3 separate regions of the Homo sapiens genome follow, and all the other regions are linked to region 2. The links are contacts of gene promoters, found by promoter capture Hi-C in blood cells and fetal thymus (Javierre and others, 2016). All regions are on one chromosome and are shown on one strand. The core of a region is centred on a gene start or on the middle of the fragment in contact, and the rest is flanking DNA. Distances in the headings are between cores, read along the strand shown.

Region 1 (3,153 bases), core at 175-2,674, 250 kb before region 2:
CTGCACTTTGGTCTTCACTGGCCTCTTTCCAGACGTCGATATGTCCACACCTCTACAGCCCTTCCCCGACCCTCAAATCTAGCCTGTCTTCTGAGCCCAGCCCTGGGGCTCCCTCGTCTATGAAGCCCTCCCAGATGTCCTCACTCCATGCCAGGCCCCACAACAGGAGCCAGCAGTATACCAGGCTAGACTCACCCTCCCTCAGGCCCTCAGTCTAATGAGAAAGATGGACTTCCAACAACAATCACAGGGGGACCTGGCAGAGGTCACAGAGGACCCCACAGAGTAGACACAATTACTCCCATTTCAGAAAAATGGAGGCTCTGACAGCTTAAATGACTTGCCCAAAGACACAACTACCAATGACATAAAATTTAAGATTTTTTCTTAAATGATTTCCAAATCCAGAAATTTGTAACAGACTCTGGACAACCAAGTTATCAGTGCCATTTGCCACAGTGTAGGCAGGGATCTTGCCAGGCAGATCCTAGAGTCACCACTGAAATGTGGATGATGATGACTGTGCCCTCTGAGAGGCCTCTTCTCCCATCACTGCACTTGCTGTGCTCCAGTTACTCCAGTTGCTCTGGGCTCCCCAGGTAAACCCTACTTCCCTTCCCATACCTCCTACTTTCCCCCATGCTATTCCCTGAGGCCCCAAATTTGCAAATTCCTATTTCTCCTTTAGATCTCAGCTAAAATGGCTTCAGGGAAGCCTTTCCTAAAGCTCCATGCTCCCTCAAGCTTTGCTTTCGTAGTATTTACCATAATTCATAAATATTTGTGAAATATCTGCTCAGGCCTGTCTTCCCTGAAGACTATAAATTCCATGAGCCCAGGGGATGTGTAGGTCTTGTCATCCCCATCTCCTCAATGCCTAGCAGGCTGGCATCCATTAGGTGCTTATTCAAATAATATTTTTAAATAAATGAATTAAAGAATGGGGAATATATGAGTGATGAGAAAGAGAAAGAATGACAAAGGGGAGAAAAAGGATATGAATGGAAGCCATCCAAAGGGCATAGATGGAAGCAACAGAGAAGACCAGCAGAGAAAAAAGGAAAGGCGTTTCAATACCTTAGCCAGAGCAGGAATGAGTAAAATTGAGAAAGAAAAGTCGCAGTTTCCATAAGCAGAAATAGTGCTCATATATTTGATAAAAAGTTAATAAGCTATTAGTCCCATTAATAAAGAAAAATATGTACATTATGTAAGTTAAGAATGATAGCTATCCAATCTTCAGGAATTCATTCATTCAACAAGTACTTATTGAGCACCTACTAATTGCCAGGCTGTGATCTAGGAGCTGGAGATGCAGCAGTAAACACACACACAAAATAAAATTCCTGTGGTCATGAAGCTCCCATTCTAAGAAGGGGAGACAAAGGAATACTGTATATCCTTGTTCATATAACTGAACATTCTTGTTTATAAACTTTTTGTTGATGAATAAAATTAACCTCAAGTGGTCTGAATTATTTCCCTTAGCCCCACTCATTGAAAAACATTAAGCTAATGTTTAAAGATGAGTGGAGGGGATGCTCTATAAATGAATCTACAAGGATCTTTGGGAAAATAAATTTTAAAGATTCTTCCATGGTAAAGAGAAAAGGCACCCTTGGATTATAAGAAGTTAGCATTCCCTCACTTGTTATTAGTGGTGTAAATTTTAAAAAATTAGGTGAAAAAAGATTTTAAATCTTCACATGACATAATGCAAAGCTACGCTTTTACTATTTATGTATCTATTTAACTTTTTTTTGAGACAGAGTCTCACTCTGTCATCGAGGCTGGAGTGTAGTGGTGTGATCTCAGCCCACTGCAACCTCTGCCTCCTGGGTTCAGCGATTCTCCTGTCTCAGCCTCCCGAGTAGCTGAGATTACAGGTGCCGGCCACCACACCTGGCTAATTTTTGTAGTTTTAGTAGATACAGGATTTTGCCATGTTGGCCAGGCTGGTCTCAAACTCCTGACCTCAGGTGATCCGCCACCTCGGCCTTCCAAAGTACTGAGATTGCAGGTGTGAGCCACTGCACCCAGCCTATTTTTTTTTTTTTAAGGAATCTGTGAAATAAATATTCTAAAAGCTGTGGCAACAAGCTTGTAAATCTCAGCTATTTTTACAAGTCTGAGTGGAAATGGACAAGCATCTGCAAAAATCCAAGATGCCCAGTCTGCCAGCCACTAGGCCCCTCTGTGAGAGAGGGCAGGGGGTTCCTCATTTACAAAGCATACCACCACCACTTCATACCTTATCTGGGAGGCAGGTGGCATGATTGCATTCCCATTTTACAGATGAGAAAACTCAGAGAGGGAAGGTGACCTGCCCAAGGCTCTAGGGGGAGTTAGTAGAACTCTGGGCAGTCCCAGACAAGGAGCCTCCTGGCTGCACCTAGCTGCCTTCTTCAAAGGCACATATGTCTGACAGAGCCACAGAAAAAACAAGGTCAAACATTGAAAAAGGTGCACGGCCTTGATGGAATCCCTAAATAATTCTTCAACTTTTAAAGAATAAATCAATAGGCTGGGCGCGGTGGCTCACGCCTGTAATCCCAGCACTTTAGGAGGCGGACACGGGCGCATCACTTGAGGTCAGGAGTTTGAGGCCAGCCTGGCCAACATGGCAAAACCCTGTCGCTACTAAAAATACAAAAATTAGCTGGGCGTGTAATCCCAGCTACTCAGGAGGCTGAGGCAGAAGAATCGCTTGAACCTAGGAGGCAGAGGTTGCAGTGAGCCAAGATCCAGCCATTGCACTCCAGCCTGGGTGACAAGAGCAAAACTCCATCTCAAAAAAAAAAAAAAAAAAAAAGGCGGGTCGCGGTGGCTCATGCCTGTAATCTCAGCACTTTGGGAGGCTGAGGTGGGTGGATCACGAGGTCAGGAAATCGAGACCATCCTGGCTAACACGGTGAAACCCCGTCTCTACTAAAAATACAAAAAATTAGCCGGGCATGGTGGCGGGCGCCTGTAGTCCCAGCTACTTGGGAGGCTGAGGCAGGAGAATGGCGTGAACCCGGAAGGTGGAGCTTGCAGTGAGCCGAGATTGCGCCACTGCACTCCAGCCTGGGCGACAGAGCGGGACTCCATCTCAAAAAAAAAAAAAAAAGAAAAGAAAAAAAAATCATCCAGTCTGGCCAACATGGTAAAGCC
Region 2 (2,820 bases), core at 31-2,530:
TTGTCTATCGCTCCTCTTGACCCACTGTGTGAATCTGCACCAAGCTCTTCCCATCGGTAGACCTCACTTCCTTAATGTAAAACCAGGGGGATGGAGAGGAAGACCCTGAAGACGTTTCTGTGGCAGAACTTTGCAAGACGTCTCCTTTCCAAAGAAAATTAGCCCTTCCAGGGCTTCTGGAAAACCTTTAAGACCCAAAGGAATGCCCCGCTAGTAGTGGAATTTCGGATAGTCGTGGGAGGGGGCTCAGGGGTTCTTGCTGAGACAAAAGGCCCTGAGCCCTGGTCCATGCCTCTCTCCTCCACCTTGTTTCTCTGGCTGAGATGAGGGAAGGGGGCTGGAGCCACTCCCCTTCTCAGAGATGCTCTTAGAGATTGCTGCAGACTGTTTTCTGGCTGGGGAGGAGCTGGCCCCGGCCAATTCTAGAGTCTCACGAATCTCCGGATGGGTGAAGTCACTCTGGGTGGGGAGACAGTTCAGTTAAGCACAGCTTTGGGAGTCAGATCAGCCTGTGTTCAAATCCTGGCTCTGCTGCGGGTCCCTGGACAAGTCAAGTAGCCTGTCCAAGCTGCAGGCTCCTCCTGTGCAAAGTGTGCAGAGTATGACTTTACAGGGTTGCCCTGAGAATTAAGCCACATAATGCAAAGAAAGCTCAGCATAGTATCTGGCCCCTGGTAGACGCTCATTACTGCCCTCACTATGGGGATGAAAATGAAGGAAAAGGACTGGCCTGGGGTCACAGAGCTGGACTCTCCAGTGAGACAGAGCAGCCTCTTCCCAACCCCACTGGAAACACGGAGCCCTAGTGTCCACTTAGCACTCTCTGCTCACCCCAGCCTTACTGTGATCTCTCCCCTCTGCTCCCGTCTGCCCCAGCCGCAAGGCCTCGGGTCTACCGTGGAATGAGGGGATCCCTAGGCCCAGGGAAGGGAGGCGCGCTTAGGGGTGGGGGCACAAACGGGCATCTCGGTGGCACTTGTCCTCTCTCTACCCTGGGAAAGGGCAGAAAGCGGCAGCCAAGTCAGGGCTGTGCACGGGAGAGAGAGTGACCGCGGCGGGGGCGCGGAGAACCCCGCTGGGCTCCCGCTCGGTGAGAGGGCGGGAGCCGTGGGTCCGCGAAGCCCCTTCCTCCCCGGCAGAGGACCTAATAGGCAGCGGGGGCGGGAGTGGGGGCGCCCTCCGGTCCTCACCCCGCCCCCGCACCTCTCCCCGCAGCGGGGGCGCCCCGCCCCCCGGGCGCCCGACGTGGACGCGGCCGCCGCCACCGCCGCCGCGCGGGAGTCGCTGTCCGCGGAGCCGACATGCAGGCGGCTCGGGGCGGCGCAGGGCGGCCGGAGCGGCCGGGCCGGCCGGGCCGGGGGCCGGAGCGCGAGCGCGAGCGGCCGCCGGGCGCCGGAGCCGCGTCCCCCTGCGCCGCCCCGGGCCTGCCGGCCGGAGGAGCCACCATACACCCCGGGTCGCCGAGCGCCTGGCCGCCCCGCGCCCGCGCCGCGCTCCGCCTGTGGCTGGGCTGCGTCTGCTTCGCGCTGGTGCAGGCGGGTAAGGGGGCCCGGGGCGGGGGGCCGGCGCCGGGGCAGGCTCCTCTCGAGCCCAGCTACCTGGGAGTCCCCTGGTCCTTTCTCTGCCCCCTAGGGACTCCTGTCTCGGCCCAAACACTGCTCCCCTAACCCAGCCCCCAGCGTCTTCCTACCTCCTTGACCCCCAGACCTGTCCTTCAGTTTCCAAATCTCCCCTGTCACCTCAGCCCTGGGTTTCCTAGGGTCTTGTGGTCCCCAGTCCCCTAATCCCATTCCCCTAACCCCAGGTCTTTGCCTCAGCTTCCCTAGCTCCCTTCTTTGACCCAGGGAGCAGCTGAGGACACCAGTTCCCCCACCTGGGCCTCTCTCTGTGTCCCCAGGACCTCTCAAAGCCCTGCAAGCCAACTCTGCAGGGGCAGATGGGGTCCCGCTGTGCAGGAGCACGTGTGAAGGGGATGGGGGCTGGCACCTGAGGGCGCAGGGCGTGGGGTGGGCCCCGGCACCCCTGATCTGGTACAGTGTCTGGCCTGCCCCATGGGGCCGGCCCGTCCTTGCCCAGCCTCTCCTGCCACTCTGTCTTTGTCCCTCCTGGCTGCCGCTGCCCGGCTCATCTCTCCCTCCGTGGCTCGGGGAGCGCTCTCTCGCAGCTGTCTTTCTCAGATGCCCCACTTCTCTGTCCTCTGGTTCTGTGTCTGCCACCACCTGTCTGTGTCCTGTCTCTCCACCTCCCCCTCCATGTCTGGCTCTGTCTCCCTCAGGTCCCAGGCCCAGCCCCCTGGGTCTCAAGTTCACTCTCTGTGGGGTGAGGGGTGCTGCTCAGGCGCAGCTCTGCCCCGTGCTGCACCTGCCCCTTGGAAGATACTGAGCCTTATGTGACTGCACTGCCCCTCTCCTGGACGGTTTTCCTCACTGACCCCCACTATCCCTATCACTCTCACCCCCACTTCCCTCCTGTCTCTTCTGGAGTGATTCCTCATTCATCCTCTTCCCCTACCTGTTCTCTCCTCTCCACTCGCCATGGAGGGGCCCTGCTCTGAGTGACCCCATCTTCCCCTGCCACCTCCCCACCTGCATCTTGGGGCTGGAAGAGCATGGATAAGAGGCTCACACAGACTCTTCCGCAGGCTTTATTCTGCCTGGGCCACCACAGCTCTGAGGATACTTCTGTTCTCCTCACTCCCAGTCCAGGGCTCACCCCAGCCTGACACTTCTCGATCTCTGGGTCTTTCTCCTTCGCGCAAGGTCACTCATTGGACAGGGCAGTATTGTCAAAAGAGCACTGGACTGGGGAGTCCTTTTGTCT
Region 3 (2,951 bases), core at 288-2,787, 200 kb before region 2:
CATGTAAGCTGGAGGGCAGTGGCACAATCACAACTCATTGCAGCCTCAGACTCCTGGGCTCAAGGGTCCTTCCACCTCAGCCTCCAAGTAGCTGGGACTACAGGCATGTGCCACCATGCCTGGCTAATTTTTTTTTAGTGATGAGGGTCTAACTATGTTGCCCAGGATGGTCTCGAACTCCTGGGCTCCAGTGATCCTCCCCTCTCAGCCTCCCAAGTAGCTGGGACTACAGGTATGAGCCACCACACCCAGCATTTCCAATTTATTGAACCTGCCATGTTTCTTCCTTTCTTGGGACCTCTGCACTTGCTGTTCCTCTGGGACATTTTTTCCACCTCTTCACCTGACCAACTGCTGCTCATCCTTTAGGTCTTGGCTGAAATGTCCTTTCCTCAGAGAGGCTGTCCCTGACGCTTTGGATCACTAAACGCATTTCTTCATTTTGAGTAGGGGAAAACCCAACTCAAACTGTCTCAAGCAAAAAGGGCATTCATTGCCTTATGTGACAAAGTCACTGAGGGATAAAAGTTGACACAAAGACTAAATCCAAGAGCTCAAAAATGTCACTGGGATCTGTTCTGCTTCGAGTCTCAGTGCTGCCTTCCTTGGAGTGGGCTTCTACCTCAGGCAGGCTCTCAGCAACCCCCCCCCACCACACACGCTTATCCTCCAATCCACCCTGGACCCCAGCCACTGCCTCCTAGGCCAGGTTCCTTGATGTGCACATCTCTGATTGGCCAGACCTGGGGCTTGAGCCCCTTGCCCAAGATGAGATCAGCCCCATTCTTACAATATAGAATGAGAGTGGGGAAGGTATGGTTCTCCAGTAGAAAAATGGGGTGTTGTAACGTGAAAAGGGGGGATGAATTCTAGCCAGGAAAAAAATGCCGATGGATTCTCTTATTCTGTTTATCAGCACCCTGAGTGTTGCCCTACGTACTGGGGCACTCTTTTTGTCTTTTATTATTGTTTGTTTATTTTGTTGCTGTTGTTGTTTGGGGGTTGTTTTTTCTTTTTGTTTTTGTTTGAGACAGGGTCTTGCTCTGTCCCCCAGGCCGAAGTGCAGTGACACAATCACGGCTCACTGCACCCTCTATCTCCCAGGCTCTAATGATCCTCCCACCTTAGCCTCCTGAGTAGCTGGGACTACAGGCATGCACCACCATGCCTAGCTAGTTTTCAAATTTTTTTGTAGAGAAGAGGGTCTCCCTATGTTACCCAGGCTAGTCTTGGACTCCCGGGCTTAAGTAATCCCCCCACCACTGCACCCAGCCCCAGGGCACTCTTTTGCCTTAGGATCTTTGCACAGGCTACCCCTTCTGCCTGAAATGCTTTTTTAAAAATATAATAATATAAATCCTTTTTGCTTTTTTTTGTTGTTGTTGAGACGGAGTCTTGCTCTGTCGCCCAGGCTGGAATACAGTGGCACAATCTCGCCTCACTGTCTCTCGGTTTCAAGCGATTCTCATGCCTCAGCCTCCTGAGTAGTTAGGATTATAGGTTCATATCACCATGCCCAGCTAGTTTTTTGTATTTTTAGTAAAGATGAGGTTTCACCATGTTGTCCAGGCTGGTCTTGAACTCCTGACCTCAAGTGATCTGCCTGCCTCAGTCTCTCAAACTGCTGGGATTACAGGCATGAGCCACTGCACCCGACCTATAAATCCTTTTTTTAAAAAAAGTTTTATCTTGAAATTCATACAGAAACTTTCCAAAAATAGTATATATCTTTCACCCAGATTCCCCAAATGTTAACATGTTGACAATTTTGCTTTCCATTCAAATATATATATTTGTGTGTTTGTGAATACATGGATGGATAGATATGGATAGACAGAGGGATAAATTATTTATTTTTTCTAAACTGTTGGAGAGTAAGTTGCAGACATAAAGCCACTTTACACCTAAATATGTCCATGTGTATTTTGTCTAGAATGTGTTTCTGAAGGAGTGGCCTGCCCTTCCACACCTGTAGGTGTTTCTCGTCAGGTGGGACGAGAGACTGAGAAAAGAAAGAGACACAGAGACAAAGTATAGAGAAAGAAAAGTGGGCCTAGGGGACTGGCGCTCAGCATATGGAGGACCTGCACCAGGAGGACCTGCACCAGCACCGGTCTCTGAGTTCCCTTAGTATTTATTGATCATTATCTCTGACATCTCGGAGAGGGGGATGTGGCAGGACAATAGGGTAATAGTGGGGAGAGGGTCAGCAGGAAAACATGTGAACAAATGTCTCTGTGTCATAAACAAGGTTAGAAAAGGTGCCTTTATCTTCCCATTTTAGGGGAAAGAATGAGCTGAACCTCCTATGCAAAGTGGAATGATGATTCTCATTCTCCTGACAAGAAATAAAATAAGTAGCCTCCAGGCATTCCTTTCCACCAGAGGAGCAATTGTTTTTTAAATAGCCCTTTGGTGCCCAGTCTATTACTAAACCGTATGAGTCATTTTTTAATATTACTGCATGTGAGTTAACACAATCTTCCCAAATTAAAGTTTTAGATGGGCCCTCAAAATTTTTAGGGCATGGTTTTCCTGCAGGTTTATATTGAAAGTATGGGGTACCTCCCATTATTCCCCCTTTCATTTGTTTTAAAGGAGAAAGTGAGTGGCCAGAGACTAAATGTCCTGGTTCTTCTGTAGCTGATCTCTCCGGAAGATAAGCAGCCTAGACTTGAGTTTTTAGATGGATACAACCAGGTGCGTGTCTGAGGCACAGAGGTGGGTATTTATAACCTATGGTAACATTAAATGCAGTGCCTTCTTCTCCTGGTTGAGCAAGGCAATGGTCATCTGTAGCTCTAGGCATCTACACACTATTGTTAGTGTAGATTTTTGTAGGAGCATCAATCTAGGTGAGAGGTCAAATAAGTGGAGGAAAAGGCACATAAGCCCAATAAGAATAATTTTGTGTAGAAGGTAAATTAGTGTGAGAGGAAACTGGTGAGACA

What was found. Contacts are between HindIII fragments. The CHiCAGO score rates a contact against its expected background, and 5 or more counts as called.
Region 1: a fragment that was not itself captured here is called in contact with the fragment with the promoter of FNDC5 in region 2 in 1 of 17 cell types (endothelial precursors); the score reaches 5.2 in endothelial precursors.
Region 3: a contact is called between a fragment that was not itself captured here and the fragment with the promoter of FNDC5 in region 2, in 4 of 17 cell types (endothelial precursors, erythroblasts, neutrophils and 1 more). The highest score is 9.3, in endothelial precursors.

Annotation. Positions count from the first base shown.
Region 1 is chr1:33,114,312-33,117,464 of GRCh38, reverse strand. All of the region lies in intron 10 of AZIN2 (antizyme inhibitor 2), which reads right to left. Among named protein-coding and RNA genes, the nearest start is that of AZIN2, 35 kb to the right of the region's middle. The HindIII fragment of the contact is 1,356 bases long and covers 747-2,102 here.
Region 2 is chr1:32,869,372-32,872,191 of GRCh38, reverse strand. It overlaps FNDC5 (fibronectin type III domain containing 5), which reads left to right and starts at 1,280. Exons shown (of 6, transcript NM_001441683.1): 1 at 1,280-1,539. The coding sequence starts at 1,302. The HindIII fragment of the contact is 9,260 bases long and covers 1-2,820 here.
Region 3 is chr1:33,067,685-33,070,635 of GRCh38, reverse strand. No RefSeq gene overlaps it. Among named protein-coding and RNA genes, the nearest start is that of AZIN2, 12 kb to the left of the region's middle. The HindIII fragment of the contact is 9,006 bases long and covers 1-2,951 here.